2 separate regions of the Homo sapiens genome follow, and region 1 is linked to region 2. Evidence: promoter capture Hi-C in 16 types of primary human blood cells and fetal thymus (Javierre and others, 2016). All regions are on one chromosome and are shown on one strand. Each heading gives the region's core, a stretch centred on a gene start or on the middle of the fragment in contact. The rest is flanking DNA. Distances are from core to core; before and after follow the strand shown. Region 1 overlaps PRPF40A (pre-mRNA processing factor 40A). Region 2 holds the start of PRKRA (protein activator of interferon induced protein kinase EIF2AK2).

Region 1 (5,253 bases), core at 1,962-4,461, about 26 Mb before region 2:
TCAAAAATCTAACCACATTGAGTCAAGAATTTACAGACATTAGGTCTGAGTTAAGATATTTTTTAAAAGTACTTGCTTGAGTCATCCACATGTACCCAGAAGTTACCCAGATTCAAGAATTATGAGCAGATGACCTAAAAAACAAAAATTCTATCTCTTTTTTGTCACTGGCTAATGCCCAATTCAATGGCATGGATCCTGTAGCTACTCAAAAGGAAGGGTAATTCAGAAGGAACAGCAACAAATAAATTTGTCAAATCAGTCAGGTAAGTCTAAGGTACCAATACACTAAATTTCTCTGCAAGGCCTATATCCTACTTTGTTATTTTTTCCTCTACATTACCTCTACATTACTTATAATACCTTACACAATGTAAATGCTATAAAAGTTATTATACTTTATTTTTAAAAATTTGTATTTTTTTGTTGTTGCTTTTTTAAAGACTATTTTCCATCGCAGTTGCTTGAATCTCTGGATACAGAGGGTCGACTGCAAATGGAAATATTTTAGTTTTATTCTCCAAACAAAAATTATTTATTTCATCTTATTTATCTTCCATTTTTGTCAAATGAAAAAGTAAGAGTAAAGAGGCAGACACTAAAAACAAGAATAAGTAGTAACAACGTAAAGTCACAAGTAACCACTGGAAACAGTCACATTTAACACTGACTGACTTATGGGCTTATACTGCAGGAAAGAATACCTGTGTATTTGTTTCATTCATTCAACAAGTATTTTACTGAGCACCCATGATGTGCCAAGAACTGTGCTCAGCACCTATAGGCTTCTTAAAAAGTACAGAACATAGCCCCTGCCCTCTAAGAGCTTACAATCTATTACTTGTTGGAAAATTAAAGCAAATTAAGAAACCATAAAACAAGTCAATAACTAGGTGCCAAAATAAGTGAAACGGTAAGAGTTATGGGTAGATTACAAATATTTTCTTTAATAATCTGAAGGGGAGGTATATGTTGGCAAAAGTCATTTTTGAGAAACTTTTGGAGAAGGCAGGACTTGAAATAGTACAACATAGGTAAGCAAAGCAAACTTCATGGTGATACTGAGCTGGGGGCAGGAGGGTAAGAAGAACAGCCTAAGTTTGAAGTTGTGAACTAATATAATCACTCAAGACACCGTGAAAAGACCAGCCTAAGTTCAAATTAGGGAGTGTAAAGACATGCAGCCTTGAATCCTGCTTTGACATGTACTATGGGGAGGTTCTTTAAAGTTAAGCTGTGGAATTTAGATACTATGTTATAGGCACTGAAAGTACTGGAGATTCTTGGGCAAGGAGATAACACATTGAAATCTAAAATTTGTGGGGGCAGGGGGGCATCCTTGAAGCAAGAAAACCAACTCAACTCAAAAACTGTTGAATAACCTAGGCATGGGAGAGTGACGACTTGGGCTCATGTGGTAGCAGGAACTGAAATAAAATAAGATCTATTAGAGCCAGCCTTACTCAATATAGGAGCAAGAAAATCAAACTCATTTGTAAAAAGCAATTATTCATTTATCAGTTTACTGACCAAAGACCAAAAAAAAAAAGCACTGAATAAATAGAATTAGGGAGGCATTACTAAAGGAATTTTCTGTTCTTTCCATATCATCCCATAAAATCTGATATCTACTCTTATCAAATGATCTGAACTGAATCATAGGATGTTAGAGCTGAAAGGGACCTTAACTCAATTACTCTACTCTTCTCACTGATAGAGGAAAATAAAGACTCAAATAGGGAGGAAAAAAAAAGAGCCAGCTAGCATGACTCTGGGGCAAAGGCATAATCATCTGTGATAAAGATGGCAGGACCTGCATGTCCTTTGTGTAGAAAACACAAAAGACATGAAAACAGTATTTACTATGGACACTGAGGAAGAAGACAGCCTCACACATAATTTTATTGATAGAAATCTCTACAGAAAATCTTTATTTTTTTGAGATAGGGTCTCACTTTGTCACCCAGGATGGAGTGCAAGGCGTGATCTTGACTCACTGCAGCCTCGACCTCCCAGGTTCAAGCAATCCTTCTGCCTCAGCCCCCTAAGTAGCTGGGACGACAGACGCACACCACCACACCCAGCTTATTTTTAAATAGTTTTTGTAGAGATGGGGTTTCACCATGTTGCCCAGGCTGGTCTCCAACTCCTGAGCTCAAGCGATGCACCCGCCTCAGCCTCCCAATGGGAAATTTTTGAGTACTGCCATCCAGCAGGGAAAATTCTTTATCTTTCTTTACTAACATTTAACCAGTGATCCTCAAAGCATCTTAAATCACATATTATTTAAAGCTTAAACAACCTGTAAGGTCCCTTTCAGCTATAAGATCCTATAACTCTAAAAGTATGACTTTCCTATAAAGTTATATAGAATAAGAGGCAAATTTAATCTACAAGATAGAAAACTGAAATAAACCTGAAAGAATATTAAGCTCAATTTGATAATCATCAAATATTTATTACTACTAAGAGTCAGCCTAAATGCATGAGATGGCACTCTAGGTCATCTCATGAATTAAGAAAAAAAAAATTTGAACACACCACTTCTTTAAGCTAAATAGCTTGATGCATTTGAGAAATTATGAACCCTGGCTTCCGTACATCATTATGCTACCCAGTCTGCATATTATTTTACAAACAAGTTTTACAGTTTCATGTCATATTGGTAACATTCCAAAGACCACAATTATTTGGCAAGTAAGACTGCCACCAATTTTAGTCTTTAGCTAGTCCCAGCATGAGATGTTCATGCAAACCAGTCAACACATGAAGGTTTTTATAACCTTCAGTCCCAAAGTCTAAAGAATTTGTGAACTGACTTTTTTAAATTGCATGGCAGAACCCTCCCAACTGTCACTACTGTGAATGATACAGACAGACATCCTGCTTCTTCTCAATTATCTTCTGACCACTTATTCCTCCTGAGTACTTCCAAGAGTGGCAGAAGAAATAATGCAGGAAAAAGGATCAATTGTCCTATTTATTATCACCTTTAATTTTTAAAGCAATGTTTACAGAGTTTCAAATATGATTTCTGATTTGAGAATTCAAATTATCCATGCTCTCCCAGTCTGTTATAAAGCTAAAACAAGAATTTGTTTTACCAAGATTTGGGACCCATATTTGTTAGTGAAATATTAAGGGGATAAAAGGGAATTATATAATTCTGACAAAAACAGCGGAGATTCTTTTGGGACTTTCAGGGCATAACTCCTACTAAAACATTTATTTATTATACTAACAGGAGCCTTCAGAGGGAGAAGAATTCTAAACATCTAAATAATTAGGTCTACTTAAAGGCACGTGGCATATATTAGCCTAGGAAAAAGTAGAAGAAAACCACACCAAAAAAATCAGTTATTTGAATGGATGTGTACCGAGTAGCAAGTAAACTTACTAGAAAGATGGTCACTGATACAGCTAAAGAGAAAGGGCCATAAAGCAAACTGTGACCAGCTTATGTCAATGAGATACATGAAAGTACTTTTAAAAAATAAAATCTGCATTTTTTTTTTTAACTAGAACTATGACTAGCTGGTATCTTGGTTTTGGTAGTGCAATAGCACCATTACAGCAAGGGTAAGCAGGTCAATCCCTTGCAAAACTTACCTTGATTGGCCCAATGGAAACAGAAGGCCCCAGAAAAGAGAGAAGCATCTGGCAGTAGCAAATTGTTTTATTTTATCTTTCTGTGGAAAGAAACTAATTTTAAATAAGAACCAGAGCATTTAAAGAATAAATATTTTTAAAGCTCATTATCTAGTTAGAGCAGCTCTACCAAGAAAACAAGAAGAGCTCCTTGCTCCTTAGAGATGGAAAGAAACAGAAGAGGAATCAAAGTTGTTTCTCCATCACCTAGAGAGTTTTAAAATTTGTGTTATTCTAGAGTAACAGAATAAAAGGCTCTTTTATTTAAAGAACTCCTGCAAGCAGAATCTTTTGGGGCTGGTGCCTTTGAATAAAGGTTTTGTTTTGTTTTTTAACAAAATTAAGGGCAATATTCCAAATTAAAAAAAAAAAGAGGAAAATCACTGGACATTAAGCCCTTCTACTCTTAAGGTTAAGTAAAAAGAGACAGACACATAGCAAGCTCCTTTTCCCACTGCAATTTCACCAATAACTTTAACCATGAAAGCTTAAACAATTATCAAACAGTACTAATTAGCAAAAGATCACATGAAATTGGCTTCCAAAATATTTTGTTAGCCTAAATTTTTGATGATTTATGGAAATACTCAAATGGAAATAACCCAGCCACCTAAAGATCTATTATAGAACTTAACATGAAGCACAAAATTACTCATGGTAACTGAACCTGTTACCTTTCTTGGATGCTTCTCTAGAAACTCAGTTCTACCGAAATCACTGAATCAGCATTAAAACCTTTTGATCCAAATCACTCCTACAAAATGTCCATTTACAATTTATGCTAGAGATGGAAGGGACAGCTCATAAGCAGGAGTGTAGAAGCAACAAGCATTAAAAAAAAATAGTATAAGTGGAAAATGAACTACCTATTGGCACTGTCCTATGAAGAATCAGAATTATAGAGCACAAACTCCCCACCCTCCCTCACCCTCCTCCAACACACAAAGAGGAAGATATTTCAGGAATAAAATTCGCTCTAAACCAAAACAATAGCTATTTTCAGATTCTATTTATTTACATGGTCTACCAAAATCAGTTATGTTGCTGTATCAGATAATATTTACTTAGACCATCAACTTCAATTGGCATTCTTGAAAAAATAATCATTAAAAATAAAAGCCTGGATCCACACTTTACTTTTAAATAATAAAGAAAAAAATTCTTAGTTTTGAGGTCATCAGTAAATTTCTCAGAAGACTTTTTCATTATTTAAATTTCTCAGAAGACTTTTCCATTATTCAAATTTCCGTTACAGTCATGATTTAACATTTGGCTTATTTGAAATTATTCGGGCATAAACTAATCATTAAACAGCTATAACTACTGACCTAGATTCTGAAATCTTGATAGAATACCTGAGGCAAAAACAAATAAATAAATGCAAAATAAAACAAAAACAGTCTTACTTGTCCCATTGGTGGCCCTCCCATAGGGGGCATCATCTGCGGCATCATTCCATGAGGTACAGGAGGCATATTCGCTCTCTGACCCATAGGGTGCATTCCCATTGGGGCATAATGCATGCCAGGGTGCCCCATCTGAAAAACAGTGAACATTTTTAAATGAGCAAATAATACTAAATGCTTCTCAAAAATCTCATTTCAA
Region 2 (5,294 bases), core at 2,705-5,204:
TATTAATATTTGCAAGAAGCACTGATTTTCTACTGTTGTATCCCATTAAAAAAAAAAAAACAGTAAAGCCTAGTTCATGAGCACCTTCATTTAATAGCTAATTGCTGGATTTGATTGGATAAAGTTTTCTTTAATGGATGATAAGTTTTCATAAGGAAATAGAATTTGAGAGGTAGGATGCTAACAACTGTTCACTTTGTTGCTTTTGTAAGCATGTTCAAATTTTTAATCTTACCTCAGCCATGATATTTTTGAGCTGCTGAATACAAAGAAATTTAGCTCACCAAATACTTGCATTGGCTTTCAAAATGTTTATGGCAGCCTCTGCAGCTCTATGTTTCGCCAGCTTCTTACTTGTACCTTCACCTGAATTAAGATTTAAAAAAAGAAGTCTTTATCTCCCACAAAAATGTGCAGCTTACAAAGATGTTTTCAATACACAAAACAAAGTCACTATAGATTTTACATACACATACTAGGTAATAAAAATATGTACGTTATATACTGTACATAAAAATATGTACATGTTATATACTACATGGTTATATACTGTAATAAAATATTCACCATGTGAAAAAATTTTAAAAAATAACTTTTTAAAGTTCTATATAATTCTATGCATACCTGCATAAAAATCCTTATTTCTACATTATATATGTTTATTATATAACATGGTAATAAAGTAGACCGTGTCACACCTCTGAAGAAATGCAGATTAGTATTTTACTCTTCCTTTATTCCTGGAGGGGAAATTCTTCTGCAGCAAGAAGTTTCTTTTAAAGGAACCATTTACAGCAGAATTGTTTGATAGCAAAATGTGCATAATTTTATTCTGACAGCCTGTCCTATAACGTATCAAACTGCTTTGCTAGGCTGAGCAGTCATGATTATGTGTTGGGTACAACAGGAAAGAGTTTTATGGAATAAGGTGACAGCTTGTTATGTATCTTCTGGACGGTCTGTATCTTCTGCATGGGTAGCTAAGTTGGGACTGGGGATAAGACTGATGTCTAATTTCAGTAAGCAATCACAATGGCAAATGATAAATTCCATCTTTTTCCTTTTAAGTTCAAACTCCCATACCCTCATGGAATAAGTTTCAAGTGTGGCCTTCAAGTGTGGCCCTCAAGTGTAAGAAGACACAGAAACCATATATTTATCTGCTAACACAGGTATTAGGGATATAGCATACAGGGTCCCTGCCCTCAAGAGCCAACAGAGTAGTGTGGGATTTTTGTCTGTTAATAGGCACCTGAAGTATGGAATGGGATATGTTACAACAAGCCTAAGTGCAGGCTGTAGCGGAGGTTGCAGTGAGCCAAGATCATGCCACTGCACTCTAGCCTGGGTGACAGAGTGAGACCCTGTCTCAAAAAAAAAAGAATGAACACTGGTTGTAATGTGACAAAAGGACATCACAAGACTAGAAGGTAAACGTGTAGCTACAAGACTGCAGCTACAATCCAAGTGAGAGATGATGGTGGCCTAGGCAGTAGCAATGGCCAGAAGAGAGAAGCCGACAGATTCAATGGATAGTTAGTGGATTATTAAACGCCAATGGATAGAGTTTAATAACAGACTGGACAAGAGGGAGAAAGACGGGAAGTAGTTAGGAAGACAAAAGCCTACATTTCTACTGAACTAGGTGATTGTGGAGCCTTTACATAGAAAGGGAATGCAAGAAGAATGGGTTTGAGGGAAAAGATGGATTCAGTTTGGGACAATGAGAGGCTTGAGGGGCCTCTGTGTCATCCAGGCAAAGATGCTCAGCAAGCACAGACTGATACACTATTCTGTAACTGGGCTTGGGATGTAGACAGACATTTCAGAATATTAGTCTTTAGACAGTATCAGAAGCCATGGAGGCAGATAAGCTTGCACAGGAAGCCATGGTAGTGTGAGAAGAGGGCGTAGGCAGAACGGTTGCCATAGGTTGTTAATTTGGGGTCTAAAACACATTGAGAGGGAAAAACCCTCCCTTTTCTTGAATTCTTCCTATCTAGAAATAGACTAGCTAAAGTAAGTAATGCAGTGTTGACTCTATGGTTCCCATGGGGACCCTTCCGGCCAGCACCTACAATCTAACTGCCTCACACAAAAAGTTTTAAACTTTTCTTAAAGTGGCATCAATTAAAATAAAAGACTCCAAACTTCCAGGGACACAAACAAATGCTGTCTTCAGATTTTCCAGATGGTAGAACTTGAGCCTTCCTACTAAATTTTTTTCTTGGCATTCTTCCAAATTAAATTTAGCATCCAATGTTTTCTGTGTTTGCAATTAAATAGATACATAAGAAAAATAATGTCCACATTTACAAATGAGCAACTTTAGTTATCATTTGCTCAAGCTCACAGACCAAAAGAAAGCATGAACTTTAAAATTTCATTGCTTTGTGACTTCATTGCTATACGCATGTTACTTATAATCTCTCTGAACCTGTTTCTTCTTGTTTAAAAAGTGGATAATATACAAAATATCTGTTCAGTTTCAAAAACTAGAAGTTATTATGTAATATATGAGGACCTTCTCCCCTTCCTCATTTTGTTTGGATACAGAATCAAAAGTAGCACAATGGACCTAAAGTGCCAAATGAGTCCATACAGAGAGGAGAGACGCTCAGAAAATTCTGGGGTCATGCCTCCTGGCATCCGCTATAATCTATGAAACTTCACAGTACCTACTGACCCAGCTATGACTGCTCCAAGAACCTTTCCTGCTTCCCTCTAATTCTAAGAAGAACCCTAGGAGGATCCTAGGGTATGAGAAGAGCCATGCAGGATCCAGCCATCCGGCTGGGTAACTTTTTAGTTTCTAAGCTTCCTTGGTATGTGGGGAAGAGAAAATTAGGAAGAGAATCAGATGCAGCTGAAAAGCCCTAACGACCTGAGATGAGAGGTCTCAGTTTCAGAGCCTGTTCCTCACAGCTGTCTGGCAAAAAGAGAACTTTTCCGAACTGAAAAGCAACACCAAGTATTGACTGCCAACCCACTCGGTCATCCAGGTTAACTGTGTATACAGACCTGTGCAGGTTATGTCACCAACGGTTACTCTGAAGGTGAAAGTGGGCACGTGTATTTGCACATCAGATCTTTCACATTCATAAACTGGGATGTTCTTGGTCTTCATGCCGTATTCGTGTAATACCTGAATCGGTGTTTTCCCTGGCTTAGCTGTTATCATCTTCCCCAAACTGCAAAAACCACAAAAAGGTGTGCTTTGCATGCCAAATTGGAGATTGAAGCAGAAGCGTAGAGGCCAGTTTTAACCGCCACCGACGGTGACGAGGGAGGCGCCGAGTTCCCCGGAGGCCAGGGCCAGAGCTGGCGAGGCTGGGGCGCACCTGTCTTCCGGCCCCGCTGCGGCAGTCACTCCGCAGGAGCAGGCGGGGTGAGCGAGGTCTTTAGAGAGAGCACTTGAATGCGGGTAGGAGAGATTCTCAACAGAACAGGGCTGGCAGCAGCGCCGCAGCCTCTCAGGGAAAACCTGACGATCCCTTCCCGGGCGCGCCGACCGAGCGTCACCTCCGCCCGCCCCGCGCGCCGCCAGGGACCACGAGAGGGGCGGGGCCCGGCCGCAGACCCCAACCCTCGCCGCCGAGAGGGCGGGGCCGAGCACCCACAGCCGCGGAGGCGTGGGCGCCGGGCACGGCTTTACCCAGAATGCCTCTGGAGGGCCGGCTCCCCGCGCCCCGGCCCTGCCGCCCAACGCTCCCGGCCCTGGGGCCCTGACTGCCCGCACGCTGACCTGAAGGTCCCACTGTCCTCGCGCTCCAGCGGCGGGGCCTCGGCGCGGTGCCTGCTCTGGGACATGGCGAGAAGGGACGGCTCAGCGGCTGGAGGAAGAGCGGTGCGGAGCGACGTGCTCGCTCCCCGGGTCGCTGGTCCCCGGGAGGAGCTCCAGCGCCGCCACCTCCTCCGACTCCCCCGCCTCCTGCTTGCGTTGCTCCAGCGAGGGGGCAGGCAGGGTGGGGGCGGAGCCTTGGTGCCGTAGCTCCGGCTACGCCCCCTCGCTGCTCCTCTGCGGGCCTCCGTCCCGGCCCAACTCCGCCCCTGTCCCTTCCAGGGTCCGCCCCCTTCCCGCCCGGCTCCGCCCCGCTCCCGCGTGGGCACAGGCATTGGGCTCCCGGGGGTTCTCCGCGCCCGCCCCTGCCGGCCCTGACCAGCCTGTAGTAACTGGCCCCTAGGCCGCAGTTCTTTGTCCTTAGCAGGAGGCCGTTTCTTGCCGGGAGAGAGGGATTAGAGGGATTGTCCGGCGTGGGTCTAGGGTCGTTGAGGCCTAAAGTTAAGCCTTTGTGGGGAGGACGGATTGGGGGCTGGGTCACTTTAAGAAAAAGATTCTAAAATTACGAAGGCAGAATTCCAGGGAGTCTCCCGGGCCTGGTCCTGAAGCTTGAGACCCCGGATATATACGCTCCAGGGGGCTGCGGTGCGCTCTTCGGGTCCCCGAGCCCTGTGTTTAGGAACACGCGGGGACGTCCAAACACCCGCTCCTCTCCCGCCGGGCGGGCTCCTTTGTCTTCTGGGCTTTCGTCGCGAGATGGAACGCTGGGTCAGTGCATCCCAGCAAAACACGTTAGGAGTAAACGAAGGCCTTTCCGGGGACCTGGGTAGTCGGTTGTAATGGCGTTTGCCTGGGATGCAGCACCTTTGGTGGGCCATTAGATGACGTGTCGCTTCTCCAGGGGCTTGCTAGGCACTAGCAGAAATGCTCCCCTGTGCTTACTCGGTGTTATGGAAGATTGCTTGCACAATGCTATTCGTACGAAAGGATATTATTAAAAGTGATTTATGGGCGGGCGCGGTGGCTCACGCCTGTAATCCCAGCACTTTAGGAGGCCGAGGCTGGCGGATCGCCTGAAGTAAGCAGTTCGAGACCAGCCTGGCCAACATGGTGAAACCCTGTCTCTACTAAAAATACAAAAATTAGCCGGGCGTGGTGGCATGCGCCTGTAATCCCAGCTACTCGGGAGGCTAAAGCAGGAGAATCGCTTGAACCCGGGAGGCAAATGTTGCAGTGAGCCGAGATCGCGCCACTGCACTCCAGCCTGGGCGACAGAGTCAGACTCCCTCTCAAAAAAAAAAAAAAAAAAAAAAGCGATTTGTTGTTTTGTTAGCATGTAAGCCCTGGATGCTTGAAACAAGTGAAAGATGTTCAGAATCTAATCAAATTATATCATCTGATGCTTTAATTAGAGCCTATTCTCTCTTCCTCTCCGTCTATATATGTATGTATATAGATTACTATCCATCACTGTTTTAATGGATATCTTATTGGAAGGGCTACATAGTCAGTA

Evidence for each region. The method cuts DNA at HindIII sites, captures the fragments that hold promoters and counts their contacts. A CHiCAGO score of 5 or more calls a contact.
Region 1: a contact is called between a fragment that was not itself captured here and the fragment with the promoter of PRKRA in region 2, in 1 of 17 cell types (fetal thymus). The highest score is 6.0, in fetal thymus.

What each region holds. Positions count from the first base shown.
Region 1 is chr2:152,710,941-152,716,193 of GRCh38, forward strand. It overlaps PRPF40A (pre-mRNA processing factor 40A), which reads right to left. Exons shown (of 26, transcript NM_001365597.4): 2 at 5,055-5,186. Among named protein-coding and RNA genes, the nearest start is that of PRPF40A, 3.9 kb to the right of the region's middle. The HindIII fragment of the contact is 1,843 bases long and covers 2,291-4,133 here.
Region 2 is chr2:178,447,221-178,452,514 of GRCh38, forward strand. It overlaps PRKRA (protein activator of interferon induced protein kinase EIF2AK2), which reads right to left and starts at 3,955. Exons shown (of 8, transcript NM_003690.5): 1 at 3,746-3,955; 2 at 3,022-3,191; 3 at 285-366. The coding sequence starts at 3,810. PJVK (pejvakin) reads left to right here and starts at 4,158. Exons shown (of 7, transcript NM_001042702.5): 1 at 4,158-4,549. RefSeq lists an enhancer at 3,111-3,685 and a silencer at 3,448-4,227. The HindIII fragment of the contact is 1,572 bases long and covers 2,816-4,387 here.